3 separate regions of the Homo sapiens genome follow, and regions 1 and 2 are each linked to region 3. The links are contacts of gene promoters, found by promoter capture Hi-C in blood cells and fetal thymus (Javierre and others, 2016). All regions are on one chromosome and are shown on one strand. Each heading gives the region's core, a stretch centred on a gene start or on the middle of the fragment in contact. The rest is flanking DNA. Distances are from core to core; before and after follow the strand shown.

Region 1 (4,994 bases), core at 929-3,428, 310 kb after region 3:
AGCTTATACCATATTTGTATTTTTTCCCAAACCTTATTGGAGCTGGGTTTTTTTTTTCCCCTCAGGTATTGGCCATGTCAAGCCGCTCATGGTTGAGCTATTCTTACCAATCTCGCTTCCATCTCACCCCACTGTCTTACGAGACACTGGAATTTGCATCGGGTTTTGCCTCGGAACAGTGTCCCGAGGGCATTGTGGCCATCTCCACCAACACCCTACGGTGAGTGAGTCTCATGTTTGAAGCTCAGCAGGAAGCCTTTCTGCCAAGGGCTCAGACTGGTTCTGCCAGAGTGTTGGAGGAGGCTGTGAAGAGGTGGCAGAGAGCCGACTTCACCATGAAGCTTGTGTGTTGCAATTGAAACCTTCATTTGGCTCAGCATTTTAGTACCTGAGAGCCAAGTTTCGGTGTTTTAGCTTCTGTTAAGATTTTCAAGGCCAAGCTTTAATACAGTCCAATCTTCCTGAGATTTCAGATTTTTGTTTTCTAGCAAAAGGGTATTGCCATTGGATTAGTTTTAGAGCAAGTATTGGATCACTGCATTGATAACCTTTCTTACTCTGTCTTGTCATTTGCGGTATTAAATCTTAAATGTTAACCTATCTATAAGTTATTTAGACCTTTTTCAAGTTGACAAAACTGTTCTTCCTGGTAATATTGATGTGAAGTTTGAGCACTGTATGTAATATTCTTTGCAAGATGGAAAAGAACCTAAAATAATTCAGTCAGTTTGGCTTCCTCAGGTTTTGGGGGGCTTTTAAAATTAAGCCACCAAAGTTGTTCACATCCTGGTTATAACTATTGGCTGTTCATAATGAAACTATGGCCTCTTGATAGATTAATCACTATTGCTTATCAAATGAGCTCCCAAAATTTCTTTGCAACAACTTTCAGGGTCTTTTCATGGTCATTGTCCTTTTTCTTTCCGTCATCTTTGTATTTATCTTCTGCTCCAGCAGAATTGATCTCCCTGCACTGCTCTACATCACTTAATATTTTTTTAATCTCTACCTGTGCTAGAATGCTTCACCCACATACATACCTGCCTGTCAGTGTTCCCCTTGTCTTTTAAGCCAGCCTTGTTGTAGCCTCATCTGTGGCCCCTACCTCCTGAATTGCTATAGATTTAGACAATCGCTACAGATTTTTAGGCTTTCCTAGCAGCAGAACTTACTTCCCCCCAAAACTAAATCAGGGAAGGTGACTTATGAGACATAAAAGCAGAGTTCTTGGCAGGCAGTTTATTTTTTTATTTAATTATTTTTATTTTTAAGTTTTTTTTTTGAGACAAGGTCTTACTCTGTTGTACAGGTTGGAGTGCAGTGGTGTGATCATGGCTCACTGCAGCCCCAACTTCCTGGGCTCAAGCTATTTCTGCCTCAACCTCCCAAGTACCTGGTGGGACTGTAGGCGCATGCCATCATGCCTGGCTAATTTTTGTGTTCTATTTTATAGAGACAGGATTTCACCTTGGTGCCCAGGCTGGTCTTGAGCTCCTGGGCTCAAGAGATTCTCCCACCTCAGCCTCCCAAGTAGCTGGGACTACAGGCGTGCGCCACCATACATGGCTTTTTTTTTGGTATTTTCAACAGAGTTGGTGTTTCACCATGTTACCCAGGCTTGTCTTGAACTCCTAGCCTTAGGTGATCTGCCTGCTTTGGCCTCCCAAAGTGCTGAGATTACAGGCGTGAGCCACCACACGCAGCCCCTATCTTTTTTAATGTAGAGAATAAACTACAAATAAAACTCCATCATTAGAGATCGGGTAACTATACTTTTCAGAGTACCTGGGTTCTGCTCATTTTGCACATAGTTTGGCTTATGTGTACATCTCTGTCCCATTTGACAGAAATTTGTAGGTCCCTTATTTGCTGTCTCTTGCATTGTCATAGTTTTCCTGAACTGAGGTGATTTTTGTTCACAAAGGTATCCACTTTATTTTATGAAGCACAGTCACTACAAATACCATATATGTTTAGGTAATTGCAGTGTTTCACAACAAATTTGGGATTGGGCTCTTTATTATCATTGGAGTGATTAAAAAAAAACTTTTGACAATCGTTTGTGTTTCATTGGTAGGAACTAGAACTGCTGTGAATTGTGGTAGGGTGTTGCCAAATGGGAAGGCCCTTCCTGGATCTCTGTGTCTGCATCGCAGAGTTTTCTAGAGTAGGAGGCTGTTGTTTAATGTTGCCTAATGCCAACGTTAGAGCTCCAGGGATTGACGTGTTTGCTGACTGCTCAAAGTCTATTTCAACACCAGTTTCTGGGTCCGAGTGAGTATTAAATAACTGCCTTGCTTTTTTGTCATAGGATTTTGGCATTAGAGAAGCTCGGTGCTGTCTTCAATCAAGTAGCCTTCCCACTGCAGTACACACCCAGGAAATTTGTCATCCACCCTGAGAGTAACAACCTTATTATCATTGAAACGGACCACAATGCCTACACTGAGGCCACGAAAGCTCAGAGAAAGCAGCAGATGGCAGAGGTAATGAGACTAACGTTCAGGGGTTCTATTAAAAGATGTGTGAAATTATGTTGAAAAGTTTAAACTGCCCGGCACTTTGGGAGGCTGAGGTGGGAGGATTGCTTGAGGCCACTAGTTCGAGACCAGCCTGGGCAACATAGCAAAACTGCACCTCTATTAAAAATTTTAAAAGATAGCCTGGTGTGTTGGTGCACTCCTGTAGTCCCAGCTACTTGGGAGGCTGAGGCAGGAGGATCACTTGAGCCCAGGAGTTCAAGACTGCAGTGAGCCATGATCATGCCACTGCATACCAGTGGCACTCTGGACACGAGACTCTATCAAAAGTTTAAACTCCTGTAATTGTTAGTATATTCTTTGTTTTTAAAGATCTAGGCTTTTTTCAGCTTTTTTAAGCAGAGGCCTTTGCCCCAAAGTACTTCATTTTAGAGCCTTTCTTGTAACCCAGGACTATACTCTGACCTCCATTTATTCACAATTAAGTTCCCTCTCTGAAACAGAATTCTCCCGTCCTTGAGCTTCCAAAATAGACTGTATTTCCTTTATTTGGGCCCAAAAGAGACAGCTTTCATGTTCTCCACAACACCAGCTCTTTCTAGAACTCATTGCCTAGCAGAAACCAAATAGCTACAACCACGTAGAACTGTATCCATCCTTAAAGAGTGGAGACAGAGTAGTTTTAGTAAGGGAAATCAGATGGGTTGGATAGAAAAGTGGAGTTTCCGTTGTCATTTTTCTCAAGCCACTAGTCCAATATTTGTCACAGCTATTGTTATTTTTGGTGTTTTCTACTAATATGTAACCAGCAATGTCTGGATTTCCCTTTCTGATCTTCTGTCTTCCCTAGTCTGTACACCTCTCCCTTTAATAGTCATGTCGGGAAATCCTGGCTGGGATGGCTGACTTTGCTGCTTTATGTATTGAGAACCCCCTGGAGTGTTCTTGCTACCTATCCTCTTCTCAGCCAGCCCCTACCTCTGAGCACGCCAACTCAGTTACTCGTTTTTTTGGGTTTAGGAAATGGTGGAAGCAGCAGGGGAGGATGAGCGGGAGCTGGCCGCAGAGATGGCAGCAGCATTCCTCAATGAAAACCTCCCTGAATCCATCTTTGGAGCTCCCAAGGCTGGCAATGGGCAGTGGGCCTCTGTGATCCGAGTGATGAATCCCATTCAAGGGAACACACTGGACCTTGTCCAGCTGGAACAGAATGAGGCAGCTTTTAGGTAAGCAGCCCAGGACAGTCCAGGGTTTGGCAGGCTGGAACAGGAGCTCTCTGAGTTTTGACTAAGGCCTTACTCTTGCTTCTTATTCTGTGTGTAGTGTGGCTGTGTGCAGGTTTTCCAACACTGGTGAAGACTGGTATGTGCTGGTGGGTGTGGCCAAGGACCTGATACTAAACCCCCGATCTGTGGCAGGGGGCTTCGTCTATACTTACAAGCTTGTGAACAATGGGGAAAAACTGGAGTTTTTGCACAAGGTAGGAATCTGCCAGTGGTTCTCCTAGATTTTAAGTCCCATTGAATTCTCTCACTTTTGCTTATGTTATGGATCAGGTCTTTTGGGGACCAGCTCCTTGATTCCAATCTCTCTCTTACCAGCACATGGAAAATGCTGGGGCCTTCTAGCTGCAGTGATGTTCTTGTGCCTGTGCATTCCACAGGAAGGCTTTGTGCTAACCATCCATAATGGGGAGATAGATGCACATTCAATTGGTCTCTTTCTTACTGTTTTAATAAGCAGGCAACAATTTGTGACCAAAATTCAGCAGTTTAAATAATTAATATTCTGGCTGGGCGCAGTGGCTCATGCCTGTAATCCCAGCACTTTGGGAGGCCGAGGCAGGCAGATCACCTGAGGTCAGGAGTTCGAGACCAGCCCGGCCAACATGGTGAAAGCCTGTCTCTACTAAAAATACAAAAATCAGCCAGGCATGGCGGCACGCACCTGTAATCCCAGCTGCTCGGGAGGCTAAGACAGGAGAATCGCTTGAACCCGGGAGGCGGAGGTTGCAGTGAGCCGAGATTGCGCCATTGCACTCTAGCCTGGGTGACAAGAGTGAGACTGTCAAAAAAAAAAAAAAGATTTAATATTCTTTTCCACCTGCATTCTCTGGGAAGTTACTGTTTAATGGGTACAGAGTTTCAGTTTGGGAAGATGAAAAAAATTCTGGAGGTGATAGTTACACAACAGTAAATGTGCTTAATGCCACTGAAGTGTATACTTAAAAATGACTGGCTGGGCATGGTGTCTCACGCCTGTAATCCCAGCACTTTGGAAGGCCGAGGTGGGCGGGTCACCTGAGCTCAGGAGTTCAAAACCAGTCTGGTCAACGTGGTGAAATCCCATCTCTATTAAAAATAAAAAATCAGCCAAGCATGGTGGTGGGCGCCTGTAACCCTAGCTATTCCAGAGGCTAAGGCAGGAGAATCACTTGAACCCAGGAGGCAGAGGTTGCAGTGAGCCGAGATTGCGCCACTGCACTCCAGCGTGGGTGACAGAGCGAGACTCTGT
Region 2 (4,805 bases), core at 2,225-4,724, 300 kb after region 3:
TGTATAGCAGGGCTTCTTAACATTTCTTTCTGCCATGGATCTTTTTGCTAGCCAAAGCATCTGGATCCGATCTGAATAATGTTTTACTGTTTTTTTGTGTTTTTTTTTTTAATTTTTTTTTGAGACAAGAGTCTCACTCTGTTACCCAGGCTAGAGTGCAGTGGCACAGTTACGACTCACTGTAGCCTCAGCCTCCTGGGCTGAAGCGATTTTCCCACCTCCGCCTCCTCAGTAGCTGGGACTATAGACACAAGCCACCATACCCAGCTAATGAATGATATTTTTAAATGCATATGAAAATATGCATAGAATCAGAATAGCAAAATATTTTTTAAAGTTGTGGAAAACAGATGTGCTTTACTGAGGTTTTATAAATAATAAGATGATACACTTAAAATGGGTGTGTTAATTTTTTTTAGGAGACTGGTGTGATGGCTGTATACCCTCAGTACTCACATGTGCGTCTGTGTTACAGTAGACTCCATTGCTCTGCAGAGAGAGTAAAGAATTTTCATTTGAACTGTCCAGTTTGTCAAAACTACAATACAGATCATTCACCTCTTTTCACATATTGATCAGCAGATAATTGTATTGGAAAGCAGCTGGATGTCTGGGATACTAGAGAATCAGAGTTGTGTTTGAAAACAGCACTGGAGACATTTTTTCCTCTAACTTTTTCTCTGTGCAGATAGCTGATCTGGCCAATGAAGATACTCCACAGTTGTATGTGGCCTGTGGTAGGGGACCCCGATCATCTCTGAGAGTCCTAAGACATGGACTTGAGGTAAGGTTGCAATTTCTAGATAATCTGCAGGGTTTGGAGGGAAGCACTGACAAAGTAGTTTATGGGTTTACTCTGATGTTGTCAAAGACATAGTTAAGGTGTCTGTGAAAAAGTATGTTCTTTCTCCCTGACTTCCCCGAAGTTTATACTTCAGATTTTCTTTCTTTTTGTCTCCAAAACAGGGTCTCACTGTGTTGCCCAGGCTGGTGTGCAATGACATGATCTTGGCTCACTGCAGCCTTGACCTCTTGAGCTCAAGTGATTATTCTGCCTCAGCCTCCCAAAGTGTTGCTTACAGGTGTAAGCCACTGTGCCCAGCCTGTGCTTTTTTCTATTCCTCAACTTGTTAGCATGATAGCCCACATGGTCACTAGTCATGACATGGAGGCTAGGAAATCTATATGGAACATTTCACTCTCTGTATACATCTAGTCTTAGTTAAATCAACTATATCAATGCTATATATATTTTTGTATCTTATTAAATTTATTCCTTATTACTATATACTCCTAAATAGCATACTTTTTATTTATTTATTCATTTATTTTTGAGATGGGGTCCCACTCTGTCTCCCATGCTGGAGTGCAGTGGCTCCATCATGGCTCACTGCAGCCTTGACCTTCCTGGGATCAGGTGATCCTCCCACCTCAGCCTCCTGAATAACTGGGGACTGCAGGCACGTGCCACAACACCCAGCTAATTTTTGTACTTTTTGTAGAGACAGAGTCTTATCATGTTTCCCTGGCTGGTCTTGACCTCCTGGGGTCAAGCAATCTGCCTGCCTTGGCTTCCCAAAGTGCTGGGATCACAGCCGTGAGCCACCGCACCTGGCCAAGTAGCATAATTTTTAGTGTTTCTGCAATGTTTCACCAAAGTGGGTAGATCATAATTTATTTAGTGAATCTTTTATTGCTGGACTTTTTAGGTAATGTGGACACTAAAAGTTATCTTCTTGAATCCCATATTCTCTGTGTATCGTAGTCCTAATGTTAATGCTTTCTAGTGAGGGCCCTGAACTTGAACTTGTTAGGAATAAAATAAAAAGCTTCCTATAACAGTTTGTTTTGAGCGCTTGGGAATGGCAATCTGAGCTCTCAAGAGGCCTGCTACCTGTTTCTGTAAATTTTTATTGGAACACGCCCAAGATAATCTGGGTTTTGAATTCTGGCTCTACCACTTAATAGCTATTACTAAGTTTTTGTTTCTTCTGTTAAATGGACTTAATAATGGTACCTGCCATAAAGAATTATGTGAATTAAATGAGTTGATAACAAACAAAGCACTTAGCTTAAGGTATGGCATGAAGTGTTCGATAAATGTTAGCTGTTAACATTGGTGTTTCAGGGAATTTGAAAATGTTTTGTCTCTGCCAAAATATATTCATCAGTTCACCAAAATTTCAATGACTCAGACCCAATTTAGAGCCATAGGTCTGGTTTTTGGTTTTTTGTTGTTGTTGTTTTTGTTTTTGTTTTTTTGAGTGCAGTGGTGAGACTTTGCTTCACTGTAGCCTCCAACGCCCAGTCTCAAGCAAGCAATTCTCCCACCTTAGCTTCTGGAGTAGCTGGGACTACAGGTGTGCGCCATCACGCTTGGCTAATTTATTTATTTATTTTTGGTAGAGACAGGGTCTTGCTATTTTGCCAGGGCTGGTCTTGAACTCCTGGGCTCAAGTGAGCCTCCCACTTCACCCTCCCAAAGTGTTGTGATTACAAGCGTGAGCCACCGCGCCTGGCCAAGAGCCATTGCTCTTGATTCGTTAGTTACTTATTTCTCATTGGATCCTAGTGAGCATATGATGAAAGCTAGTGCTTTACACAAAAAATGCATATGTGCGGCTGGGCACGGTGGCGCACGCCTGTAATTCCAGCACTTTAGGAGGCTGAAGCAGCTGGATCACCCAAGGTCAGGAGTTCGAGACCAGCCTGGCCAACATGGTGAAACCCCTTCTCTACTAAAACTACAAAAATGAGCCGAGAGTGGTGGTGGGTGTCTGTAATCCCAGCTACTCAGGAGACTAAGGCAGGAGAATAGCTTGAACTGGGAGGTAGAGGTTGCAGTGAGCCGAGATCACGCCACTGTACTCCAGCTTGGGCAAAAGAGTGATACTGTCTCTAAAAAAATGCATATGTGCATTAACAGAAAATTTTTGTATAGTGTAAGAGATAAATGACTCAAGAATCATTTTTTAGTTTCCTGCTACTTCTCTCCCCACTTCAAATCTATAGACAAACCTTTGTTATATATAAAAATATTTTCTGAGGTGGGCAGATCACGAGGTCAGGAGATCGAGACCATCTTGGCTAACACGGTGAAACCCCGTCTCTACTAAAAATACAAAAAGATTAGCCAGGCGTGGTGGCGGGCGCCTGTAGTCCCAGCTACTCAGGAGGCTGAGGCAGGAGAATGGCGTGAACCCGGGAGGTGGAGCTTGCAGTGAGCCAAGATCGCGCCATTGCACTCGAGCCTGGGCGACAGAGCGAGACTCCGTCTCAAAAAAAAAAAATTTTTTTTTAAATTGTTGAACGTTGCTTTATTCCTTTATGTCTATTTGTTACACCTTGTTGTCTAACTAGATTGTGGTCTCAATTGAGCCAGGGTGACTGACAGTTTTACATTTGGTATAGACTATAGCATAGTTGACAGTTGAATTTTATTGATGATGAAGTTCTTAGGTCTTCCTTCTAATTATACCAGTAAACTAGGAAAAGGGCTAGTCTTTCTGTGAATATACATGAATTCTTCCTATAAGATGTGGGTTACACGTTATATATAAGTGGCTAGTTTATTGTCTCTAGATCATTTAAAAACATTCAATAATTTTAATTTTATAATGATTTTAAATTTATAAAAAAATTGCAAAGACAGTACAGAGAGTTCCTGTATAACCTACACCCAGTTTTCCCCTCTAGATCATTTTGAATTTGGCTTAGATGTTTTGTTTACTCTTATGTTTGAGAACCTATAGGACATGTAGAGAATCATTCACTCTTGACTTTAAGGAGCATAAAAATCTAATCAGAAAGACAAAACAGTTAGTACCCTAAGAGGTGGTGACTGATTTCTTTCTTTTTTTTGGAGACGGAGTCTCGCTCAGTCACCCAGGCTGGAGTGCAATGATGCAATCTCAGCTCACCGCAACCTCCGCCTCCCGGGTTCAAGCGATTCTCCCGCCTCAGCCTCCCGAGTAGCTGGGATTACGGCACCCGCCATCATGCCTGGCTAATTTTTATATTTTTGCAGAGACGGGTTTCACCGTGTTGGCCAGCTGGTCTTGAACTCCTGACCTAAGGCAATCCACCCGCCTCGGCATCCCAAAGTGCTGGGATTTCAGGTGTGAGCCACTGGGCCCAGCCGGTGGTGACTGATTTCTATGAGTGCTTATAGAAGGGAGAGGTGACTGCCAGCCAAGGGGATAAGGGAATAATTTTGTTAAAGGAGGTGGCATTTGAATTGGTCCACATGGGATTTGGCCTTATGGGAGCTGGGGAAAGAAAGGGGATGCTAATTTAGATGGCCTGATTGATTCCCAGTGGTTACTGCTGTTCTGAGGATGATCAAGGCATATTGTACTTGAAGGAAAGGGGTATGGTTTTGCCTGCAGCAACTGTACCCTCTCAGACATCCTGTAACTTTTGCTTAAGACTGTCATGGGGATTGCCACTAAGAACCAGCCTGTTTGGTTCTTAGATTCTTCTTTCACTAGGTGGTTTCATCCTTTAAATACAGCATACGTTGTGAACCCTGCCTTTGAGACCTTATTTTTTGATGTGATTGTAAGCAGGTAGCTGAGTTGCATGCTCACTGGATCTGTGGCTTCCCTCTTCTCCTGTCAGGTGTCAGAAATGGCTGTTTCTGAGCTACCTGGTAACCCCAACGCTGTCTGGACAGTGCGTCGACACATTGAAGGTAAGCAGCTTTTTCCCAATAGTCAAAATGAGGATCTAGGTGCCATTGACATAGAAGGCTTGAAAGGCTGCGTTCATAATACTTCTGTATCATTTCATTTAGCACCATATAC
Region 3 (4,992 bases), core at 2,328-4,827:
GTAACTGGTAAATCTAGGTGAAGCATATTATTATGAAATTATTATCGTATTTACAGGTATTTATTTTACTGGTGCATCTATCTTTCTATGAATGTGAGAATTTTCACAAGAGCTGGGAAAATGTTCATAATTATGCATGCAGAATAAGCCCAAGCTGGTGGCATTCTGTTCAGTTACAGGTAATTTTCTGAATCTTCCCTCAAATTTTTCTCAAACCTCTATAATCAAGGGGAAAAATGTTTTGTTTTGCTTTGCTTTTTTGAGATAGGGTTGCCTATAATGGAGTGCAGTAGCTTGACCATAGCTCACTGTAGCTTCAACCTCCCAGGCACAAGCGATCCTCCTGCCTCAGCCTTCAAGTAGCTGGGACTACAGGTGCATACCACCATGCCTGACTTATTTTTTTTCCTTTTTTTTTTTTTTTTTTTTTTTTGATAGAAACAGGGTTTCACCTTGTTGCCCAGGCTGGTCTCAAACTCCTGGACTCAGGCGATTCACCAGCCTCAGCCTCCCACAGTGCTGGGGTTACAGGAGTGAGCCACCATGCCCAGTTAAAAATACACTTTTTATTTAAAAAAAAAAGAGAACACTCCTTATATTTCCTTTATATTTTGTAAACTACATACCCAAAATAAAGCATATCAAAAACTGTAAAAAAAAAAAAAAAAAACCCTAATATCAGATATTCCAGACACAACAATACCATAATTTAATCACTTAAAATCTTACTCAAAACTAAATCAATGATCTTTTAGGCCAGGTGTGGTGGCTCATGATAGTAATCACAGTACTTTGGGAGGCCAAGGCAGGAGGATCACTTGAGGTCAGGAGTTCAAGACCAGCATGGCCAACACAATGAAAATCCATCTCTACTAAAAATACAAAAATTAGCCAGGCTAATGGCACACTCCTGTAATACCAGCTACTTAGGAGGCTGAGGCAGGAGAATCGCTTGAACCTGGGAGGCAGAGGTTGCAGTGAGCCGAGATCATGCCACTGCACTCCAGGCTGGACAACAGAGCAAGACTCCGCATCAAAAAAAAAAAAAAGATATTTTAATATATTCAGATACACAAATATGAAATAAAACTAAGTAGAGCTGGTATTCATTTACACATAATTATCTTATACCGTTTGGAATAAGAATTTGGGGCACGTTAGCAAACCAAAAGGCTCAGAAAGACGTCGTGATATTTAGTTCTTGTCTCCCTCTACAAATGTGAAGCACTCTTCTATCCGGCATTCCTAGTGGAGTTCCTATTTTCAAATTTGCAAATCATTCTGGTGCTAAGCAATCTCAAAAAAAACATTTACTAAAAACCAGAGGAAAAAAATCTTATAACTTTGGGAGGCTGAGGCAGATGGATCACTGAGATCAGGAGTTTGAGACCAGCTTGGCCAACATGATGAAACCCCATCTTCTCTAAAAATACAAAAAGTTAGCTGGGTGTGGTGGCAGGTGCCTGTAGTCCCAGCTATTCCAGAGGCTGAGGCAGGAGAATCACTTGAACCTCTGAGGCGGAGGTTGCAGTGAGCTGAGATCGCGCCATTGCACTCCAGCCTGGGCAACAGAGTGAGACTCTGTCTCAAAAAATAAATATAAAAAAATAAAAAGCTGCTATTCTCCATTAATACCTGCAGGCCCGACAAAGGCAGCCTAGGAATTCTAGATGAATGGAATGAATACAACTTGCTGGAAGTTCTTAGGAAACAAAATGACTATTCACAGAACCAAATAAAAGCCTTCCACTAGAAACTAAAAATAATAATAATAATAATAATGGTTTTATATATATGCATACACAAGCAAAGCCAGAAGAGAATAAATAGCAAATGAATGAAAACTAGAAGCAAAAACAAACAGGAAACCATCTCTACATTTTTTTTACTCAATCGACCCTGAATGCTACAGCATTATCCAGGGCCGCAGAAAACACACATAATACTTTATTCCTGATAAACAATTCGATGTCCTTAAGTCCGCCAATATCACCGTACATTCTGTGCAATCAAGAAATTTACTCAGCTGGGCACAGTGGCTCACACCTGTAATTCCAGCACTTTGGGAGGCCAAGGCGGGTGGATCACCTGAGGTCAGGCATTCGAGAACAGCCTGGCCCACATGGCGAAACCCCATCTCTACTAAAAATACAAAAATTAGCCCGGTATGGAGGCATGTGCCTGTAATCCCAGCTACTTGGGAGGCTGAGGCAGGAGAATGGATTGAACCCAGGAGGCAGAGGTTGCAGTGAGCCAAGATTGCACCATTGCACTCCAGCCTGGGCAACAGAACAAGACTCCATCAAAAAAAAAAAAAAAAAAAAAAGAAAGAAAGAAGAAAAGAAAATTAGCCAGGTGTGGTTGCATGCACCTGTAGTCCCAGCACTTTGGGAGGCCAAGGCAGGAGGATCAATCAAGGCTAGGAGTTTGAGACTGCAGAAAGAAACCCTGTCTCTAAAAAAAAGGTCCAGGTAATTTCAGGGTCCAGCTCCACCACAAGCGCAGCTCCAGGGGCTGTTGAGTTTTGCCTTTATCATTCCAAGTAGTCCCTGCTCCAGACCAAGTCCCACCATCTGGCAGTCAGGTCAGTCCAACCACAGTCATATCAGGGCCCTTCCAGGAATTCTCGACGCAAACTGGAGGCCGATGGCGCGGGTCTTTTCGTGGACGGCGGCAGCACGGTCCTCGGCTTGCGTCCGTAGTTGCTCAGGCTTCTGGTTCAGGGCTGGGCGGCGGCGCCCCTGCGGCGGGCGGCCCGCACCAGGCTCTGCTGCAGCACGGGGTAGAGGCGCTGGCAGCCCTCGAGGCCCAGGCGTACGGCCTCCGCCCAGCTCTCTGTCAGGCCGCCCTCGCCGCTGCCCAGCAGCCCGGCCACCTGATTCAGCACAGGCATGAGCGCCACGGTGAGGCCGGCGGCGGCGCGCTCTTCCTCGAGCCGCGTGGGGTCCAGGAGCCAGGTGGGCGCGGGCCCCGGCGCGAGGCTGAGGCCGCAGCCCACCACCAGGTCGTACATCTCCACGCCCGCGTCGGCCAGGGCGAGCGCGGCGGCGGTGAGCGCGGCGGCCAGGGCCGAGCCACCGTCCTCCAGCAGCAGCGCCGACACCTCGAGCTGCGCGCGCGGGTAGCGGCCCAGGCGCACAGCCGGCTCCAGCGCCTCCTGCAGCGCCAGCGCCAGCTCACGCTCCTCGCAGCCGCCCGGGGGAGCGCGGCGCCGGCGGCCCGCGAAGGGTGCGCGGCGGAAGTCGCAGAGCAGGCGACCGCGCAGCGCGGCCGGGGCCTCGCCGCCTGCTCCGGCCGGGCCGCCGCCGCGCTCGCCGCCCTCGGCCTGTCGCGGGCCCGACACGGCACACAGCACCTTGGTGCCTCCCGCCTCCAGGTAGGCCGAGCCCTTGGCCTGGCTCAGCAGCCCGGCGCGCGCGTACACGGGCCGTAGCCGCGTTGGGTCGCGGGTGCCGGGCGCCTCCTCCTCGTCGGCCGCGTACAGCTGCGGCGGCTGCGATTCTTCAGGGCCGCGGATGCGGCGGTGATCCCCAGGCATGGCGGTTCTTGGCGTGCGAACCCCTTCCGCCCAACGCCCTGCCGCATCCACTGGTTCTTCCGTTGTTTAAAGACGCGCGGCTGCGCATGGGCTGTCGAGAGAGCGGCGGGAGGCACTACAGCGCCCCTGGAGGCCCGGAGGGAGAACGGCCCGGTCCCAGTTGTGCAGGGTAGCCGGATCCATCCATCTTGCTGGAAGGGAGGGGGGAGAGCAGCTCCAAGAAAGGCTTCTCTGCTTCCAACTACCTCCACCCCTCATCTACTGAATTATGAACGCCTTGCTCCAAGTCACCCCACCTATTTGGCCTCCACCTCCACAGACGTTTGAGGCAGCCCTAGGGGCTGTTCCCAAAATTTTGGGTTCTGGGGCTGGACTAGGTGAACACCACAGCAGCCAGCAGGAGCCACAGCATTTATTCTACAGACGCCAAAGGCTGTCAAAAGAGCCAGCCCCTATTGGGAAGAGGGATAGAGATCATGCGGCATTAAGTATTGCACGTGGTCCTTTTATTCTCTGCAGCAAAAACGATTCCTACTTGCTGACGCGGAAAGCTCAGGTCTGGAGAGCCGTTATCTATAGATGCGAGCGTGACGATCAACAGCAATGCGGGGTTAGTGGTTCTAGACCGATGGCACTGACGTGGAGGGCTCAGGGCAGAAATTTAAGGGGCACTGAGACATAGGACTGCTCCCAAGTGTGTTCCAGTTACTGCTGGGTTAGGAGGGGCTCTTTAAAGGTCCCAAGATTCAAATGTTCTTGTAGCAGATGAAGAGCTCTTGGCTGGACGGATGGATCCAGTGGGAGCCTCCTCCTTCCCCACTCAGTTCTTTACATCCCCGAGGCGCAGCTGGGCGAAGGAAGTGGCCAGCTGCAGCGCCTCCTGCAGGCAGCCAACGTTCTTGCCTGTGGCCTGTGCAGACACATCCTTGCCACCACCTTTACCGTCCATCAAGCCTGACACCTGCTGCACCCACTCGCTGGCTTTTAAGCCCCGATTGGCTGCATTCTAGAAGACAGGAAGGGAAGGGGGAGTCAGCACAGAAGATGGGATTGAGGGAGGAATGCAGGGAAAGAAAGGATGGAGGAGCCATCACCCACTCCTTGCCCTGGGTGATACTGCTGGAGGCCGAGACAGACTTTACGGCTGGTACAGGGGGCGGCCATGGCCACTGCCAGGACAGGACAGAGTGGCAAAGCCAGGTATCAACCAGATGTCTTCACCAATAAGAAGGCCTGGGTAAGGGGTACTGGCAAAGGTAACCAACCGGTGGGCAGAAAGGCTGTTTCGAATGCAGGCTGTACACACACAGGCCTCAGCCAACAACCTTAAGACCTAACACTTCCCACTGGTGCGAGGTGGTGCTGACCTGGGGAACTTGACACAGGCACGTGATCTTGCCAGCCTCATTGTCCACCGTGAAGAGCATGGCAGAAGTCTGAGGGGAGTGCATCTT

Evidence for each region. The method cuts DNA at HindIII sites, captures the fragments that hold promoters and counts their contacts. A CHiCAGO score of 5 or more calls a contact.
Region 1: a fragment that was not itself captured here is called in contact with the fragment with the promoter of EXOSC6 in region 3 in 3 of 17 cell types (erythroblasts, megakaryocytes and fetal thymus); the score reaches 20.4 in erythroblasts.
Region 2: a fragment that was not itself captured here is called in contact with the fragment with the promoter of EXOSC6 in region 3 in 6 of 17 cell types (erythroblasts, megakaryocytes, total CD4 T cells and 3 more); the score reaches 16.7 in erythroblasts.

The regions. Positions count from the first base shown.
Region 1 is chr16:70,561,565-70,566,558 of GRCh38, forward strand. SF3B3 (splicing factor 3b subunit 3) reads left to right here. Exons shown (of 26, transcript NM_012426.5): 17 at 66-220; 18 at 2,312-2,486; 19 at 3,501-3,706; 20 at 3,804-3,960. Among named protein-coding and RNA genes, the nearest start is that of SNORD111, 26 kb to the left of the region's middle. The HindIII fragment of the contact is 3,481 bases long and covers 439-3,919 here.
Region 2 is chr16:70,543,750-70,548,554 of GRCh38, forward strand. SF3B3 (splicing factor 3b subunit 3) reads left to right here. Exons shown (of 26, transcript NM_012426.5): 10 at 689-784; 11 at 4,621-4,693. Among named protein-coding and RNA genes, the nearest start is that of SNORD111, 8.1 kb to the left of the region's middle. The HindIII fragment of the contact is 3,294 bases long and covers 1,828-4,805 here.
Region 3 is chr16:70,248,363-70,253,354 of GRCh38, forward strand. It overlaps EXOSC6 (exosome component 6), which reads right to left and starts at 3,578. Exons shown (of 1, transcript NM_058219.3): 1 at 1-3,578. The coding sequence starts at 3,538. The coding sequence ends at 2,720. It overlaps AARS1 (alanyl-tRNA synthetase 1), which reads right to left. Exons shown (of 21, transcript NM_001605.3): 20 at 4,906-4,992; 21 at 3,936-4,544. The coding sequence ends at 4,359. RefSeq lists silencers at 2,785-3,104, 3,235-3,324 and enhancers at 3,705-3,754, 3,795-3,984, 4,619-4,992. The HindIII fragment of the contact is 9,148 bases long and covers 1-4,992 here.